Linked DNA regions of Homo sapiens: region 2 is linked to region 1. The links are contacts of gene promoters, found by promoter capture Hi-C in human tissues and cell types (Jung and others, 2019). All regions are on one chromosome and are shown on one strand. Each heading gives the region's core, a stretch centred on a gene start or on the middle of the fragment in contact. The rest is flanking DNA. Distances are from core to core; before and after follow the strand shown.

The links. Contacts are between HindIII fragments. The study calls those that stand out against the background at their distance.
Region 2: a contact is called between a fragment that was not itself captured here and the fragment with the promoter of DSN1 in region 1, in 6 of the 25 tissues and cell types used here (H1 embryonic stem cells, dorsolateral prefrontal cortex, lymphoblastoid cells and 3 more).

What each region holds. Positions count from the first base shown.
Region 1 is chr20:36,771,550-36,778,172 of GRCh38, reverse strand. It overlaps DSN1 (DSN1 component of MIS12 kinetochore complex), which reads left to right and starts at 4,410. Exons shown (of 11, transcript NM_001145315.2): 1 at 4,410-4,511. It overlaps MTCL2 (microtubule crosslinking factor 2), which reads left to right. Exons shown (of 15, transcript NM_080627.4): 15 at 1-726. It overlaps LOC124904894 (a long non-coding RNA gene), which reads right to left and starts at 3,038. Exons shown (of 2, transcript XR_007067574.1): 1 at 2,955-3,038; 2 at 1,081-1,368. RefSeq lists enhancers at 3,559-4,105, 4,065-4,144, 4,155-4,294, 4,425-4,484, 4,106-4,651. The HindIII fragment of the contact is 22,977 bases long and covers 1-5,118 here.
Region 2 is chr20:36,884,543-36,890,954 of GRCh38, reverse strand. It overlaps TLDC2 (TBC/LysM-associated domain containing 2), which reads right to left. Exons shown (of 7, transcript NM_080628.3): 5 at 3,427-3,500; 6 at 1,552-1,704. The coding sequence ends at 1,569. SAMHD1 (SAM and HD domain containing deoxynucleoside triphosphate triphosphohydrolase 1) reads left to right here. Exons shown (of 16, transcript NM_015474.4): 16 at 1-726. Among named protein-coding and RNA genes, the nearest start is that of TLDC2, 12 kb to the right of the region's middle. RefSeq lists an enhancer at 3,045-3,767. The HindIII fragment of the contact is 8,903 bases long and covers 1-6,412 here.

The sequences.
Region 1 (6,623 bases), core at 3,161-5,660:
TGGAAGAGGAAGAGAAGTTGAAGGGCCTGGAGAAAGCACACATTGTTTGTTTCCCTGCTCCTGCTCACCTCTCTCACTTGTCTTGGTTTTACAAAAGGCTGTGTGGATGGTGCCAGCCAGGGAGGGGGTGGGAGTCCTGGGGAGGCAGGAGGCAGAAGACCCTGACTGTTTCTCCCTTGGGAACCTCACCATAGGCCAGATAGCGCCTCTTCAAACTGAAAGAAATCTTAACTCCACAAAGAAAGCATCCTAAATCCCCAGTTCCTCCTCCTCCCAACCCCAGGGATACCTTGTAGACAGTGCCAAAAAACAGCTCCAACCCCCAGCAGCTGGGAAGAGAGCCAGAAGCTGCCCTTCCTCCTCATCCTGGCCCCTCCCCAGCCCCCGCCAATACTGTGAACCCCCTTCCCACTCAGCCTGGTTTCCTGGTGAGGGTCCTGCAGTCATGGGCCCTGGGGGACCCCCAGGGCAAGGCCCATGGGAGGGAAGGGACCAAGGGCATCCTTGGGCCAACTGTCCACCTCTCTTGTCCACTATTCTCTCCTTTCCACTTCTGTCTTCAAAAGGCTCCTTCCTAGGATGGATCGGGTGCTAGGACAACTGCAGTCCAATCCACCAGCTCTCCCTGCCCCTGTGTCTTATTTCAGACATGAGAATAACTGTACAGTGTAAACTTATAAAGCGTTTTTAATGGTTGTAGATTGGAAATAAAGTATGTCATATGAACAGCTGCTGTGGACTTGGCCTCCTCTCTGATTTTTCTAATGAGGTGGGTGGGGGCCCCAGCGGATCTGAAACCTAACTTTTCCCCACTCCCAGCTGCCTGGGAAGTGGGGAGCCCAGGGAGGCCACAGCCAGCTGGCTGGTTTGGAGTCACTTGGGAGGGGCCACCAGGTGTTCTGGCTGCTGCCTGCTGATACTTCAGCGTCTCCCACACAGTGTGATATGACCACTGAGAAACAAATGCAGTCTTCAAAAAGAAGAAAAATAGAATTGAACTTTTCTACAAAAGACTTTAACAATTTTATGAAAAAAAAAAAGACACTTTTAGGTGTGTGTCAATTGTCTATTGAAGCGTAATTAATTATTCCGAAACATTTATTATACCCCACAGATGCTATGGGTCAGGAATTTGGGAGCTGGGCAGTTCTGATTCAAGGTCTCAGGAGGTTGCAGTCAGTTGTCAGTCAGGCTACAGTCATTTGAATGCCTGATGAGCTGGAAGACCCATTTGCAAAGTAGCTACTTATGCCTGGCAAGTCATTGCTAGCTGTTTGCAGGAGGCCTCAGTTCCTCACCATGTGGACCTCTGTAGGCTGTTTGCGTGCCTTCACAACATGGCGTCTGGCTTCCTCCACAGCATGTGATCTATGAGAGAGCAGGGAGGAAGTCACAATGTCTTTTATAGCTAAGCCTTGAAACTCACAGACTAGGCCAGGCGCGGTGGCTCATGCCTGTAATCCCAGCACTTTGGGAGGCCGAGGCGGGCAGATCACCTGAGGTCGGGAGTTGGAGATCAGCCTGACCAACATAGAGAAACCCCATCTCTACTAAAAATACACAGTTAGCTGGGTGTGGTGGTGCATGCATGTAATCCCAGCTACTCGGGAGGCTGAGGCAGGAGAATCGCTTGAACTCAGGAGGCAGAGGTTGCTGTGAACCAAGATCGCGCCATTGCACTCCAGCCTGGGCAACAAGAGCAAAACTCCGTCTCAAAAAAAAAAAAAAAAGCCACAGACTATAATGTCTATAATGTCTGCAATATCTAATTGGTTATATAGACTAGCATTCTTCAGCATGGGAGGGGACAACACGAGGGCATGAACACCAGGAACCAGGGGTCATTGGGGGCCATCTTAGAAGCTGGCTACATGATACTTCATAGATCTCTTCTATGAGGGGCTAATAACAGCCAGGCATGTGCTAGGTATTGAGGATACAATGGATGGGCCTGGAAGATATGAAATCAAATGTTAATGGCAGGGGGAGCCCAGGGTGCTCAGCCAGCCCAGAGGAAACAAGAAAGGCTTCACAGAGGAAAGGACATCTGAATGACACCTAAGATTGAGATGTTGACCAGATGAAGGCCATGGTGGTGTGTTGTAGGCACGGGACTGAGGGGAAGTGGTTCCAGGGAGAGGGAATACCATGTGTGAAAGCCTCGTAGAAAGAGAGCAGAGCAGAACTGGGGAACTGAAAGAAGAGGCTGGGTCAGATCACACAGTGCCTTTTTTCTTTTTCCTTTTCTTTTCTTTTTTCTTTTTTTTTTTTTTTTTTGAGATGAAATCTTGCTCTGTTGCCCAGACTGGAGTACAGTGGCATGTTCTTAGCTCACCGCAGCCCTGGCCTCCCAGGTTCAAGTGATTCTCCTGGCCTCCCAGGTTCAAGTGATTCTCCTGCTTCAGCCTCTCAAGTAACAGGGATTATAGGTGCATACCACCACACCTGGCTAATTTTTGTATTTTTAGTAGAGACAGGGTTTTGCTATGTTGGCCAGGCTGGTCTCAAACTCCTGACCTCAACTGATCCGCAGGCCTCAGCCTCCCAAACTGCTGGGATTAGAGGCGTGAGCCACCACACCCAGCCTAATGACACAGTGCCTTATAGGGGAAAAAAATGTGTGCCTCCTGTGGACAGGAGGGAGCCATGCAACAATTCAAAGCAGGGAAACGATGTAGAAGATGTATTGGGTCTGTATTCCATGAAATCATTTTCTCATTGTGCCCCAGGATGGCCAGCCCTAGCTGGGAAGGAACACTGAGTTCTCTTCCTGGCACGTTGACAGAGAGGAGTTTAAGAGGCAGGCAAGCATAAAAGGAACTGGGTACCTCTCAACCCCAGAAAGTGATATTCAGGGAGCCAAGGGCAAATCTCTGCTTTCAGAATGGCTGCTGCAGCCAGCAGGCTGGAACCACAGGGTGGAAATTTCAGGAAGGCAGATTTTTGTCTCCCACCAGAAAACTTTTCCAAGGACCACAACTGCTATGGAAGGATGACCACGGTCAGCTCCAGCTGCCTCTCTCCAACCCCTCTTTTGGACTGTGGGCTGCTTATAATTCAATATTTGGAAGTTTTTCTGTGAAAGAAAGGACTGTGCACATCCAAGGGGACATTTTGGTGGCGTCGTGCTGGGTGCTGAGGAAGCAGCCCGCTCTCTGGAGCCTCCTAGACCAGCATGGGATAGTGGAGCAGGAACAGATTGGGCTCCTGGGAGCACAGAAAGGACAGTTGGTTTTCAGCCTAAGGCCAGAGAGAATGCTTGGAGAGAAATCAATCATTCCTTAGCTGAGGCTTAAAATTCGAGGATGTGGCCGGGCGCAGTGGCTCATGCCTGTAATCCCAGCTCTTTGGGAGGCCGAAGTGGGTGGATCACTTGAGGTCAGGAGTTCGCGACCAGCCTGGCCAACATTTTTAGTGGCCGTCTCTACTAAAAATACAAAAATTAGCCAGGCGTGGTGGTGGGCGCCTGTAATCCCAGCTACTCGGGAGGCTGAGGCAGGAGAATCGCTTGAACCCGAACCCGGGAGGCGGAGGTTGCCGGGAGCCGAGATCGCGCCACTGCACTCTAGCCTGGGCGACAGAGCGAGACTCCGTCTCAAAATACAAAAAAATTGGAGGATGTAGCTAGGAAAAGCAGGGAAAGCCTTCCCAGGCAGAGGGAACAGCGCCTGGGAATATAGCGCCTCAAAGGGCATCTGATGCCCTGTCCCCGTCCTACCCCTAAGGACCAGCCCGACCTGCCGCACCCCCCGACCCCGACTAAGGACACTGCGACCACTTGGGGGCGCTGCGACCTCCTCCCGGGTGAAATGAAACCCGAGGGCAGGCCCCCACCCACCAAGCAAGTAAAGCAAGCCGTTTGAGGGAGTGGCCTGGAAATGAGAGAGAAAAAGTCCTAGAGCAGGAGTGGGATAGACTGTGAGGCAAACTGAGCTCAGAGCTCCAGTCCACCCTGGGGAGAGTCACGGTCCACATTTTGGGAGTTAAGGAGATAAAGGGAGTGGGAACCAGAGCCTAGCGACGGGGACAGGGCATCAGATGCCCTTTGAGGCGCTGTATTCCTCCGGCAAGAATCTCTCCGGGCCTCTGTTTCCCCCATCTTAGATGGGCTCTGGGGCCGTCGGGCGCAAAAGGACACGATAGTGTGGCGGGTCCCGGAAAGGGACTCCCGGGCGGGGTGTTGCGGGGAGGTGGTGACGTGGCCAGACAGGACCTAAAGGACTTGGACTAGAGGAGCGGAGCTGGCAGGAGCGTTGGACGGCGGTGTACGCATGCGCGTCGGGCGGCGGTGTACGCATGTGCATCGCCGGAGGCAGGCGTTCTGCGCGCGCGTGCCCGAGAAACTGACGGCCGCGCATGCGCCCTTGGTTGGCGGGAGTTTCGGAGGCGGTGACCGTGACGTAGAAGGTGGAGACCGCTTCACCCTGATCAGGGAGTATCGGCTGCGGGTGCGCAAGGCGTCCAGGAGTGACCTGGGGCTGTGGAGAGCGACCCGTGGCCTTGTGTTTCAGGTACGGAGGTTCCGGACTGGACGGGCGTCAGGAAGTCACAGACTTGTCCTCTGATGTGGCCCCGCCCGCCGCCGCACTAATCTCTTCGGCGTCGTACCCGTCGGCCCAGCTCGACCCGCCGCAGCCCCGGCCCCGACCGTGGACACTGGGGGTCCCCGAGGGCGCTGCGACCTCCTCCCGGGTGAAATGAAACCCGAGGGCAGTCCCCCTTACCGACCCCATTAGAGACGTATCTGCCGTGCCAGGGGTCTAGGCTCCAGAAACAGGGGTGAGGACTGGGTAGAGGGCTGGGGTTCGAATTGCCCCTGTGCCCCCAGGCTGGCTGTGTCACAAGCTTGGGCCAGGCTTTTTGCCCCTCTGAACCTCAGTTCCCCTGTCTGCAAAGTGGAGTTAATGGTGCTTACGGAGTTGTGGAAGGGATTAAGTGGAATAACGATGCAAGTAAAGCGCTTACATAGCACAGGTCCTAGCACAGAATAAGCGTTTAACAGTTGACAGTTGTTGCTTTTCTAAGCCTGGATCTGTGTGATACAGTCGTTATTATCCAAGCCTGGATTTGTGTGATATTGTCATAAGGACCGTGGGGGATTCAGATCCTTGACCGAGCCCTCCTTGTTATCTTTTCCTTTTTGTCCCTCTGCATATATTCATATCTTTTTACTTAGCACCCCCCACAGACAGATTTCTGCTGGGAGGGAGGGGACGATGAAGAGATGCCTAGGTGACATCCCTGCCTTCCAGGCAGTTGTTCCTGACAGTCACTAGGAATACAAATACAGCCTGGCTGGGGAGACAGACATGTAAACAGATTTTATAGCCAATGCTACGAAGGCCAAGGGGCATAACCACCAACTCTGCCAAAGATAAGTGATGTGAAAGCTTCATATTTGAGCCAGGTTGGGAAGGATGAATAAGTTTAACAGGTAGAAGGACAGATATGTGCAAAGATTCAGAAGTAGTACAGGGAATAGGACTGGGAGGAGAGAGCAGGAATGGGTAAATTGGGACTAGTTTACCTGAGGTGTTGACTACACTTTGGAAAAGTCCCGGCAACTGTCTGAAGAATAGACTGGGCCGGGTGTGGTGGCTCAGGCCTGTAATCCCAGCACTTTGGGAGGCTGAGGCCGGGCGGATCACCTGAGGTCAAGAGTTCGAGACCAGCCTGGCCAATATGGGGAAACCCCATCGCTACTAAAAATACAAAAATTAGCCAGGTGTGGTGGCAGGCACCTGTAATCCCAGCTACTCAGGAAGCTGAGGCAGGAGAATTGCTTGAACCTGGGAGGTGAAAGTTGCAGTGAGCCGAGACTGCGCCACTGCACTCCAGCCTTGGCGACAGAGTGAGATTCCACCTCAAAAAAAAACAAAAACAAAGAATAGACTGGAGACGGGCCGTTGGAGGTAGAAAAACTAGTGGAGAGACTATTAAGATAGTGGGAGGGACCAGAAATTATGAGACCTGAACTAAACTAGTAACAGTGAGGCTGGGCGTGGTGGCTCACGCCTGTAATCCCAGACTTTGGGAGGCCTAGGCTGGTGGATCACTTGAGGCCAGGAGTTTGAGACCAGCCTGGCCAACATGGGGAAACCCCATCTCTACTAAAAATGCAAAAATTAGCCAGGTATGGTGGTGCATTCCTGTAATCCCAGCTACTCAGGAGGCTGAGGCAGGAGAATCACCTGAACTGGGGAGGAGGAGGTTGCAGTGAGCCAAGATTGTGCTACTGTACTCCAGCCTGGGCAACAGAGCAAGACCCTGTCTCAAAATAATAAATAAACTAGTAACAGTGAGAATGGAGAAAAGATTTAGAGACTGTTTATAAAACAGTTAGGACTTTGGATCTGGAGAACTAAGAATAAGAAGTAATGGATGATGTGGTTTTTCTAGTTTGGAAGACCAGGTAGACCATAATGTCATCAATGGAATTAGGGACTAGTTAAACACAAAGTAACTGGGAAGTAAGGTAGGGTATGTGTTCAGGGAGATTTGAATATTTCTAGCAATAAAGTGTATAGAAATTCAGAAGAGGAGGTGATGGCCCCTGCTGATATTCTCTGTCAGGGAGGTGGATAAGGGTAGCTCAGAGAGGCTGGAAAGCACACGGCCTATTT
Region 2 (6,412 bases), core at 1,353-3,852, 110 kb before region 1:
ATTGTGGTTTACTCTGAGATTCTGTAGTCCTAATATTGTATCATTGTGCTGTCTGCAAAACAACTTGAATCTATTTTGTTTGCATCTTTTGTTACATGTAACGCAGCTGTACTTTATGTTCTTTGCAACTGTTTCCATTATGAGAACGCTGTGCTATTTACAAGGTTACATTTTTCTTGGCCAGGCGAGGTGGTCATGCCTGTAATCCCAGCACTTTGGGAGGCCAAGGTGGGCGGATCACTTGAGGTAAAGAGTTGAGACCAGCCTGGCTAGCATGGCGAAACCCAGTCTCTACTAAAAATACAAAAATTAGCCGGGTGAAATTAGCCGGGCGTGGTGGTGTGTGCTTGTAATCCCAGCTACTCGGGAGGCTGAGGCAGGAGAATCGCTTGAATCCGGGAGGCAGAGGTTGCAGTGAGCCAAGATCAGGCCACTGCACTCCAGCCTCGGGGTCAAGAGCGAAACTCTGTCTCAAACAAAAAGAAAGAAAGGAAGGAAGGAAGGAGGGAAGGAAGGAAGGAAAGAGAGAAAGAAAAGAAAGAAAGAAAGAAAGAAAGAGAAAGAAATATCTTTGCTATTTGTATAAAAATGGAAATTTTAACAGCTTAGCCTCTAGAGAGTTACTGAACGTGGTTACCTTGGGAATGTAAATAGAACTGCAAATTAAAATGACTGGCCACTTCAACTGGGTAAGGGAAACAGCTGCAATAAAGCTTCGTGAATATATATCTCCATCTTGAAAGTTGTGTTCCACAAAGGTTTCGACCTCTTTGTCCAAAAATGCATATTACTCATTTACTCCTTTCATACCTTCATTGTGAAATTAAATAACAGACTCACAAGCACCTGGCACTGGTGGCAGACAAAAAGGCCTCAACATTCTGCAGCAGGCCAGAGGAGGAACGACGCTGCTACAGTATTTATTAGTTCCAGTGCTCAAGCCCAGGTTTCTAAGGTTTGACAATATTCTGTAAGTTAAAATCATTTCCACACATACAGAGTAGAATCCTGTTTTTGTAAGTATACACACACACACACACACACATTCATGGAACATTGTCTGGAAGGATATACATGAAAATGTTAAGAGTTGGGGGGGGTTGAATTTTAGGCAATTTTAATTTTTTTAACGTCTTCTGGTTTTTCTACAATAAACATGAATCAGTTGTAGAACCTCTAAAATGATAATGTTCATGAGGTTGGTTTTCCTCGTTCAGTAGCTGGCGAGGAACAGCATAGTGAAAAATCTTCCCTTTGCCAGGAGGCAGGCACTAGCGGGGAAGAGATGTGGATTTTTCTGAGTTTTCTAAGACCCTGTTAGCTTAGGGTCTCTGTGCTGCTTGAGTAAGGTGTAAGCGTCTTTTAATCCTTCAAAGTCACCTCTGCAAAAGAGCAGTGCCTGCCCCCACCTGTATCTTGGGTCCCCAGGCCACAAGGAGGCTGGCCAGCAGCCTCGGCCAACTCTAGGGCCCTTCACCATCTGTGTTTCAAACAGCACAGGCTGCTGTGTGTCAGGAAGGCCTGGGTGGCATCATGAGCAGGGCTGAGTACCTGTTGCCGCAGGGCTGTCAGCTGAGAAGCCAAGCCTCCAGCTCCTGGATGCAGAACTGCTCCTGCCGGGCCAGCACCTCGTTGTTGAAGGTCGGGCAAGGGGAGCTTCCCCCGCGGAACAAGTCTCCATCCAACCACAGCCCAAACCGGCCACTAGAGAGAAGAGGACAGTCTTGGTGCGGCTCACTCCTGTGTGCTGAAACCCCCAGGCTCTGCCACCAGCATCAGCTCTTGGCCATGCCAGGACGGCAGCCCAGTTTCACCTGTCTTATCGCCCCTTAAAGCAATTTATACTGAATTATTGGGGACTCAGCACATTGTTCCCCATGGGGTTAAGAGCTTTATTTATTTATTTGTTTATTTATTTATTTATTTATTTATTGAAACGGAGTCTTGCTTTGTCACCCAGGCTGGAGTGCAGTGGCACGACCCTGGCTCACCACAACCTCCACCTCCCGGGTTCAAGCAATTTTCCTACCTCAGCCTCCCTAGTAGCTGGTATTACAGGCCGCCCACCACTATGCCTGGCTAATTTTTGTATGTTTAGTAGAGATGGGGTTTTGCTATGTTGGCCAGGCTGGTCTTGAACTCCTGACCTCAAGCGATCTGCCTGCCTTGGCCTCCCAAAGTGCTGGGATTACAGGTGTGAGCCACTGCGCCTGGTCAAGATGGCAATTTTTTTTTTTTTTTTTTTTTTTTGATAGGAGTCTTGCTCTGTCGCCCAGCCTGGAGTGCAATGGCGCGATCTTGGCTCACTGCAAGCTCCACCTCCCGGGTTCACACCATTCTCCTGCCTCAGCCTCCCGAGTAGCTGGGACTACGGGTGCCCACCACCACGCCTGGCTGATTTTTTGTATTTTTAGTAGAGATGGGGTTTCACCATGTTAGCCAGGACGGTCTCGATCTCCTGACCTCGTGATCCGCCCACCTCGGCCTCCCAAAGTGCTGGGATTACAGGCACAAGCCACCACGCTCGGTCCAAGATAGCAATTCTTAATACAAAAATTAGCCGGACGTGGTGGTGGGCAACTGTTGTCCCAGCTACTCGAGACGCTGAGGCAGGAGAATCACTTGAACCCAGGAGTCGGAGGGTGTGGTGAGCTGAGATCACACCACTGCACTCCAGCCTGGGCGACAGAGCGAGACTCTGTCTCAAAAAAAACAAAATGGCAATTCTTTAACCAAAGCTAGTACATCTCAGGGTGCAAACTCTGAGAGCCCAAATGCTTCAGAGCGTCCATTCTAATCCCCTTATTTGACAGAAAACCTCGGCTGAAACCAGGAAGTGAATTCCTGCAGATCAGCAATGGCTGATGTGTTCTGTGCCAAGCTGCCCCTCAGTGGAGGCTTTTCAGGCAGTTGGGAGAGCAAAGAATTTGCCTGGTACTAATCAAGCAATGCTCTCATCCCCGCCCTCAGGATAAGACGCATGCCCCCTGAATGTGAAGGTCACACCAGGATGAGATCAACTTTTTTTTCCTACCTCTCTCTACCCCGTCCTCACCGAGGGAGGTTCCTGCAATGAGTTATGTCCCCTGCAATTCCTGGGCTGGTGGAAAAACGAGGCACACTCATCTCTTGACGCTAGTCTCATCCAACCATGTGGAATTCTTTTCCCAAAGTTGCATACATTCAGACTAAACTGTCACCAGCTGTAACACTTCAGTGGGGGCACTCATGCATCCTTTCTCCTTAATACTGGCTTAGCGTGAGGTTGAGGGGGTTGGCTGGGAGGCTGAGCAATGAGGGGAACGGCCTGAGAGTTCCCCACTAGCCTCGCCATTGCATCAAGGGCAGCCTAGCCCAGCAGTTCGGCAGAGGGAAAGGGACCAGAACACAGACCGCCCCAAGACTCGGGAAGACTGAGACACTCACCTGCCACTGCCCATCATCAGTGAATCCAAGTCTCCCTTCACAAAGAAAGAGTTGCTTCCAGTCCACTTAAAGACCTGGGTGATACATAGGGAAAGGCTCAGGTTACTAAGCGAGCGAGTCCCGCCCTTGCAGTTTGACCCCGAACCACTGGATGGCAGTGTTGTGGCGGGAACAGCATCCAGGCCCCAACCGAGCCGCAGGTGGGACTCCGGGCTCAGGGATCTTGGGGTTTATCTTCTCAGTCTCCTTGGAGTCACCACCGCATGCCCTCTAGTTTGAATTCCTACAGCCTAGAAGCCTCTTTGTTCTAGAATAGGACAACGACCCCTGAGGCTTCCTGCTTCCAAAGCTGGAGGGAGGAGGGGAGCAGTCCAGGCCAGGAGTGGGAACTGATACTGCCCTTCTAACTAACTCTCACCCGGACAACACCAGCCCGCCTGCTCTTCAGTGCTGCCTCACATCCAGCTCATCAACAAGCCTCGCAGCTCTAGACACAGCGGGCCTGCCGCCATTTCTATCCCGTCCTCTGCCTGGATCACAGCCTCCCAGCTGGTCCCTCTGCATCCACTGTCTGTACCTACAGCCATACCCACACTGCAATCTGCGTGATCTGTTCTACGTCCAAATCAGATGTTATCTCTCCTCTGCCTAAGTCCTCCAATGGCTTCCCATTGCAATGGGGATAAAATTCAACTCCTTAACAATGGCCAGAAGTGCAGCCTGGGACTGGCGCAGTGGCTCATGCCTGTAATCCCAGCAATTTTTTAACTAGCTAGGTGTGATGGTGTGCACTTGTAATCCCAGCTACTCAGTAGGCTGAGGCGGGAGGATCACTTGAGGCCAGGAGTTTCCTCGAGGTCAGGAGTTCTAGACCAACCAAGGCAACATAGTAAGACCCTCCCCTATCTCTAAAAAAAATTTTTTTTCTCTCTCTTTTGAGACAGAGTCTCGCTCTTTTGCCAGGCTGGAGTGCAGTGGCGCAATCTTGGCTCACTGCAACCTCCGCCTCCTGAGTTCAAACGATTCCCCTGCCTCAGCCTCCTGAGTGGCTGGGACTACAGGCACGCACCACCACGCCCGGCTAACTTTTTGTATTTTAGTAGAAACAGGTTTCACCATGTTGCCCAGGCTGGTCTCAATCTATTGACCTCGTGATCCGCCTGCCTTGGCCTCCCAAAGAGCTGGGATTACAGGCTCGAGCCACTGCGCCCGGCCCTAAAACAAATTTTTAAACCTAGCTGGTCACAGTGGTGTGCACCTATAGTCCCAGCTACTGGGGAGGCTAAGGTGGAAGGATCACTTGAGCCCAGGAGTGGAGGCTGCAGTGAGCTATGATCGCACCACTGCACTCTAGCGTGGATAACAGCGCAAGACCCCAACTCTAAAAAACAACAAAAAAACTGTCAAAACTTAAAAAGTGCAGCCAGCTCTAACCCCTGATTTTCTCTCTGGCCCCTTCTCCCCCTTATTGACTACACATTAGCCACACCAGTCTTTCCATCCCTGGAACACCCAAAGCCCATTCCTGACCTAGAATCCCTCTGCCCAGAATGCTCTTCCCCTAGATCCTCAGAGGGCCCACCTCTCATCCTTCAGCCCAAATATCATCTCAGAAATTTCCTGGACCACCCTATCTGAAGTAGCCCTTCCTCCCAGACCCTGTTTCATTCCTCTTTATTTATTTATATTAAGGACGTTAAGTTCCGTGTGGCCTGTCTTCTTCCTGGCTGTATTCCTGGAACATATATATTTATTGAATGCAAAAATTATTCAAGAGTCAAAATAGTTTTAAAGGGCTGCAAAACGATAGGATGTTATTGCCTTAATCAGTGGCCCAAAATGCTGTGAGCAACCAAAGGGTTTTTAGCCGGAAAACAGACTAATAAAAGATACGTCCTATGCTCAGGAGAGATGAGATCATATTAACAAGTGACCACAAGGGGACAGAATCATTCAAGTCCTCCTCTACTTTCTCGAAGGACATGACCTTTGACCTGAAGGAGTAAGATACACGTTGCTGTGGAAGGAATTGAGACCAAGTTCATGGTGCCGTTTGGAATAGCAATCAACGAACTACCGAATTCATGAGGAATACAAGTGCCAGAAGGCCAGAGATAGCCAAGAATTAACCAATTTTTTAGAAGATGAGATTCCATAACAATAGACTGGAAAGACAGGCTCCCCTGAAAAAGTTACTCATTTCATTCAACAATTTTTTTTTAAAGCACTTATGCACCAGGCACTATTTTCAGGCACTGGGTAGACTGCTGAATACAATAGACAAAAACCTCTGCCTCAACGGACTGACTTTCTAGTGGGAGAAGGCAGATAACAAAGTAAAAGAAGTTCTCTGGCCGGGCACGGTGGCTCACGCCTGTAATCCCAACACTCTGGGAGGCCAAGGCAGGTGGATCACCTGAGGTCAGGAGTTCAAGACCAGCCTCGCCAACGTGGTGAAACCCTGTCTCTACTAAAAATACAAAAATTAGCTGGGCGTGGTGGCATGCCTGTAATCCCAGCTACTCGGGAGGCTGAGGCAGGAGAATCGCTTGAACCTGGGAGGCAGAGGTTGCAGTGAGCTGAGATTGCCCCACTGCACTCCAGCCTGGGCAACAAGAGCAAAACTCCGTCTCAAAAAAAAAAAAAAAAAAAAGAATTTCTGTGTTAAATGATGGCAAACGCTAGGGGGAGAAGGACACTAAGGGCTTCCTAGGGCTGGGTGTTGTCATTTTATTTATTTATTTATTTATTTATTTATTTATTTTTAGAGACAGGGTCTTGCTCTGTCGTCCAGGTTGGAATGCAGTGGCATGAGCAATGACAGCTCACTGCAGCCTCAAATTCCTGGGCTCAAGCGATCCTCCTGCCCCAGCCTCAGGGGTAGCTGGGACTACAGGTGTGTGCCACCACACCCAGCTATTTTTTTGCTTTTTGTAGAGATGAGACGTCACTATGTTGTGAGGGCTGATCCTGAACTCCTGGCCTC